2 separate regions of the Homo sapiens genome follow, and region 2 is linked to region 1. Evidence: promoter capture Hi-C in human tissues and cell types (Jung and others, 2019). All regions are on one chromosome and are shown on one strand. Each heading gives the region's core, a stretch centred on a gene start or on the middle of the fragment in contact. The rest is flanking DNA. Distances are from core to core; before and after follow the strand shown. Region 1 holds the start of ASNSD1 (asparagine synthetase domain containing 1). Region 2 has its middle 6.3 kb from the start of AKAP19.

The links. Contacts are between HindIII fragments. The study calls those that stand out against the background at their distance.
Region 2: a contact is called between a fragment that was not itself captured here and the fragment with the promoter of ASNSD1 in region 1, in 1 of the 25 tissues and cell types used here (lymphoblastoid cells).

The regions. Positions count from the first base shown.
Region 1 is chr2:189,660,158-189,662,857 of GRCh38, reverse strand. It overlaps ASNSD1 (asparagine synthetase domain containing 1), which reads right to left and starts at 1,399. Exons shown (of 6, transcript NM_019048.4): 1 at 1,248-1,399. ASDURF (ASNSD1 upstream open reading frame) reads right to left here and starts at 1,399. Exons shown (of 4, transcript NM_001353493.2): 1 at 1,248-1,399. The coding sequence starts at 1,337. RefSeq lists an enhancer at 1,152-1,341. The HindIII fragment of the contact is 8,906 bases long and covers 1-2,700 here.
Region 2 is chr2:190,173,225-190,175,945 of GRCh38, reverse strand. It overlaps a transcript of AKAP19 not described here. Among named protein-coding and RNA genes, the nearest start is that of AKAP19, 6.3 kb to the left of the region's middle. The HindIII fragment of the contact is 3,430 bases long and covers 1-2,721 here.

The DNA.
Region 1 (2,700 bases), core at 150-2,649:
TCACACCTTAGCCTCCGAGTAGCTGGGACTACAGGCCTGGGCCACCATGCTGGCCTGGGCTTCATTTATTTGTAGGGGAGGGCTCAACTAAGTGAAAACTAAGTTTCTTTTTAACTCTATTTATTTTGTGAACATGACTGATTACATAGTATCACAAGAGCCTCTAAAAGCAGCTTTTATCATATTTGTGCTACCTCACACACACCTCAGGGATCTGTAACCACCAGTATGCGTAAGTGGCTTGCTATGGTGGTAATCAGAATGGGCTGTGTGTCTTTTGAAAATTCACCCCCAATCCCCATGAATGTGCACCTTTCTGTCTCCCCCGTTGGCAGAGCTGTAGTAATGAGGTTGAATTCCAAGGCCAAATTTGTAAACATTCTTTGAGACTTAACATTTATACAGGGCTTTCCCATTTTAGGAATGACAGGTGTACATTTCACTTTACTTCAAAGAAGGTAACTGATACAGAAAGATTAAAGAGACTTGCCCAAGATGTCATTGTAAGTTTGGGACAGAACCAAAGTAGAATCTAGGACATGTAATACCTGAAGGGCTATAACCCTCGCCACCCCCATTTATCTTTAAAGGTTGTTTGTTTATGGCAGTTAAGGCTTATATTATATTGGCTTCCTCTCTCCCCCAGTTTGGTATGAGTGACAACCCAATGCGTGTTTTAGGACCATTGCTCTGGTTAACGGAGAAGCAGCAGCTAACAGGTGGATGAGGAGAGACCGCTTAGGAAGGCCTTGCCGGGGGCAGGGGTCCCGATAGCAGATGACGGTGGCTTATTTGGGGTGGTAAGAGTGTTCACGGTGATAAAGGGACATATTTGAAATGAGCTTCAAAGGTAGAACTGATAGGCTTCCATGATGGGGGTCAAGGATGGACCCCGGGTTGCTGGCATGGTTAACTGGATGGAGAATATCTTTGATGGAACAGATTTGGGGTGGGCGGTATTTCCAAAAGTTTAAAAAGACTAGGGAGGAAAACACCCAACCAAAACTCCGCCCCACTGTCACCTGGGTCCAGTCTCGGGACAAATTTCAAGATCTCCCTTTTCGCAACTGTTTTCAGAAAATAAAAGGACTAACTGTGGCTGTCAAGTGCTATGAATAAAAAGAGCAAAGTAGCAGGGCAAAGCCGAGGCCCAGGCAGGCCCCACGCTGCCCGCTGCGGACCACCTTCAGGGTCCAGTGGCGCCCGGTCCCGAGTCCAGGAGCCTTTTCGTCGCGTCTCACACTCACCTTGCTGCTTAGATCCTCCTTGTGTGGGGTCGAATTGTCGGTGGGGATCAGCACAGAGCTGTCCTCTGGTCGCGTCCCTCGGCTGGGCATTTCCACCGAGCGCAAGACACGCGGGATGGCTCAGCCCTGAAGGAGCCTACGGCATTAGCCACAGCGCATGCGCGCTTCCAGCCGCGCTCACCCTTTCTTTTCCCGCGAGTCTTACCAATAGCGTCTGCGCGCTCACTTGAACGCATGCGCAGGCCGGGTCTGGCCTGGGGAGGAGTTTCGCGCCTGCGCATGGCTGCTTAGGGAGCGAGTAAACAGTCTGGTTGCAAAATCTGAGGTTCCTGTACTGGCCTCTTGTGGTTGAGATGCAGAAACGCTCAGGTGGTTTCTTCATGACCTCTTATCTAGTATACTACGAGTTCTGTGCGCCCTCCAGTGGTAAATATGAAGAATAGTCGTGCAATAGAAACAGCGCTTAATATGATATTTATTATCTAGGGAAAGATGAAGCTAAGGAACAGATTTAAGAGATACCGTGTTGGCAAAAGAACTGTACAGACTTGGTAAAGTTTTGGTTAACTCGTGGTTAGGGTTGCCGGATAAAATACAGTATGAACTTCAGATGAATTAATAGTTTTTTAGTGCATCTATGTCCCGTGCAATATTTGCAATATCTCATTTCTGTGGAAAAAATGACTAAAACTTGGAAATAGGCAAAAGAGATTTATTTACTGGATGCTCTTTCAGTGCTGCTCTGGACTTGACTTTATTATATTGACTGGGCTGTTTTACAATTCTGTAGGGGCAAAGGTTAACTTTGGTAGAGATTTTGGTTTGGTAGAGATGCAAATAATTTTTTGTTGTACCAGATACCAACACAGGTTATGATTTATTGTTCTGCAACACATTAGTCAGTTTTGTATCTAACCCTGCATTCTGTCCTAACATTTCTTTATTAACATATGCCTAGCTTCTCTAATATTCTGTATTGGTTTTAAAGTCATCGGTTCCCTCACTAACCAATGAGTTGAATAAAAGTTTGACATGTATATATTTTATGTTCACATTAGAGACATGATTTTAGGTTTTTGATAATTATACTATATTATTGGAAATCTTAAGTTTCCACAGAGATGCCCAACTGGATTTATGTGATGAATCAAACTATCTGGCGAAAGAAATGTATACATCATGGGTTGTTTAAGGCCAGGCATGTTTTTTATTTGCTCTTACAGAAAACCCAAGTGGTTATATATTTTTCCTTTATAATTGATTTTTAAAGATTGTGTTTTCATTTCTGATTTGTACATTCCTGATAAGTTATTCAGGTATAACTTATACATTACTGATACATTGATAGCAGCAATGATTGGGAGTTTGGTTTTGTGGTCTAACCATTTGGTGGTATCTGTTGGATGATGGACGTCTAGTCTCATTGGTAGAGAGGTAGATAGGTGCAGTGGCT
Region 2 (2,721 bases), core at 213-2,712, 510 kb before region 1:
AGCCTCGTTTAAAGGGGTTTTAATCCCATTGACAAGGGAACAGCTCCAAAGGCCTAATCACCTCTTAAAGGCCCTACCTCTTAATCCTATCACATCGGCAACATCTGAATTTTGGAGGGAACATTCAAACCATGGCAGTTTGCCATTATAATATTTTAATATATATCATGATATGCTTAAAAGCTCTTATGAATTAAATTTTCCAAATGGTACTGTAGGCCATTGTAGTCTTACTCATTATGTCACTGAAGTGAGAAGTGATTGACATTATCTTCCTTATGTGGAAGACAAAAATCAAATAGCCCCTCCAAGCTTCTCACTCCTGAAGAAAAAAATTCTTTAGTTTTTCTCACAGAATTTCCTTTACTCACATTTTGTTAGGCTGCTCTAGACCCATTCTGGTTCTCCAGGTGTAACTAAATGTCCGGCAACCCAAACTAGGGAATAGTTCCAAATAAGAGTTTAATGCAGAGCATGAGACTATTGTGGAATAGTATCTCCTGACCGTGTAATGTATAATCCAGTTCTGTTCATTATATTTACAACTATATAAGCTGTCAACTATACCATCAGTCTATTTCTTCTCACTTGTTTGGTTCTTAAAGTTGTTCTGCATTCCTTTTTGTGTTGAGTTTGGTCTTTAAGTTTACTGATGTGCATCTGTCCGTAAACAAGCCTCATCTTCCTATACAAGATCTGTCAAAAGATCTTTACGCTGAACTTAAGTACATTTTGAAGTCTTTAAAGCATCATTAATAGACACTATATTTCTATGGTATAAGTAGATTTAACAATCCCCAAAGAGGTAGACGTGCCTGGAAATAAATAAGCGTCTGATTTTGTTGTTGTTGTTGTCTTTTATGGTTACCTATATTTATTCTACCACCCCTACCCCCACCACCAAATTCTGAGCATCTTGAGGATAGGAACTATGTACTCCATGTAATCTATGTATCTTATGTGCTTATTTCCAACACCTGACACAAGGAAGGCATGAAATGTTTGTGGAGTTGGGCATGATTCTTTGCTTTGGTGCTTTATATAATTTCATCTCAGTTTAAACAGAGAAGAACATTACTGCTTGGGCCCATGAATCCAAGCTTCTATAAGTCTTCACCTGCATTTATTTTGATAACCATTTTTGGCATCAAGATGGGGCCAACTTTTATTTGCTTACAAATGTGAGTATAAGACATTGTTAAAAGTCATATAAATACTGCAATAACCATTGGTCCAAAATTTGCTATTTCAAATTTCATATTATATTGTATGTTCTGTTTTTTTTACTTAGGGCATATGTGCCTTTCAGTATGAGTCACTTTCCATTGTTTCACTGCCTTGGGTGTTAAAAACAATCTGTCCCAATTTGATCAACATAGTTTAGCTTCTCCCTGGAATTATGGACTTTCACATATTTATTAGCTCATGATTTTTAAATTAAATATTTGACTAATATACCTTGAAAGGGGGCATAGCCACATAACTGAAGACATTAGAATATTTATCCTGAAGAAGTTAAGGAGAATGAGAAGAGAAATCTGAGGGGTATTCATATGGACAAGGGACTGTATTTAATCTGCGCTGCTCTGATGGGCAGTACGAGAACCAGCAGGAAGAAGTCATGGCAGTGTTGGAAGTAAATGCTCAGTGCCACCAAGTGAAAACAGTCCTCAGGCAAAAGTTTTCTCAGCAAGGCAATTTACTTCTATAGAAGGGTGTGTTTTGTGGATGGAGCAATGGCGAGAGCACACCAGACACGGTGGGGGAAGGGGGTCTTATTCCTAATGCAGCTAGTCCCTACTGCTATGTTTTTCCCCTATTGGCTAGGGTTGGACCACACAGTCTAAGCTAATTCTGACTGGGCTATTTTAAAGAGAGCAAAGGTAGGAGCCGGAGTGGCAGGGTGAGTAGTTTTGGTGGGAGGGATGGTTACAGAGCAGGTGACTAAGGATGACTAAGGACAGAGCAGGTGACTAAGGACAGAGCAGGTGACAGAAGCTAGGAGGGGGTTGTTTACTGAAACTAGGGGCAAGAAGACGTAAAGAACAAGAAAGTCAGACTTTAAGATGGAGAACAAAGAACAGGGAAGCTGAACATACTGACATATTGGTTCTTTGGAGAGAAACTCAGAACTCACTGTACTTAACAATTTTCTCGATCTTGAATTTTAAAGGAAGTTAACAGGCTAAACTTTGAAGAGGAATTTACTGTATCCTCCAGCAGGGAGTTCTGGATTTAATTAAGAGAGGACTGTCTATTGGTTATAACTTAGAAGACGATGGTCTGGTTTGTGAAATGGTGAGCTTCCCTTTCAACCAGAAGTCAGATGATCTATCTGGGAAGCTATGAGGGAGATTTTTACAAAGAATAAAATTTCTCAAAGCCAAGATTCTATCATTTTAGGAGTTGTTTCACAATATAAATTCACGTGCACTTGGCATTTGAACTACATTCACCCCAGTACTACAGGCATTATCTTGACGTCTTACAGTGTATGCCCTCTATGAGGACAGAGTGAGTTCTGCTGTGGTCCTTGGCTAAGGAGGCAGCTTTCAATCTTTTGAACATTTTTTCTTAGAGAGCAAACCAACTGCCAAATGTTGAATGAATTGGTACTCATGAATTCCAGATAATTCAACATAAGAAACTATCTATGTACGAATATTTTATGGTTTGTGATATTTCACTTAACTGCTAACCTCATCAGATGTAGTAGAGAAT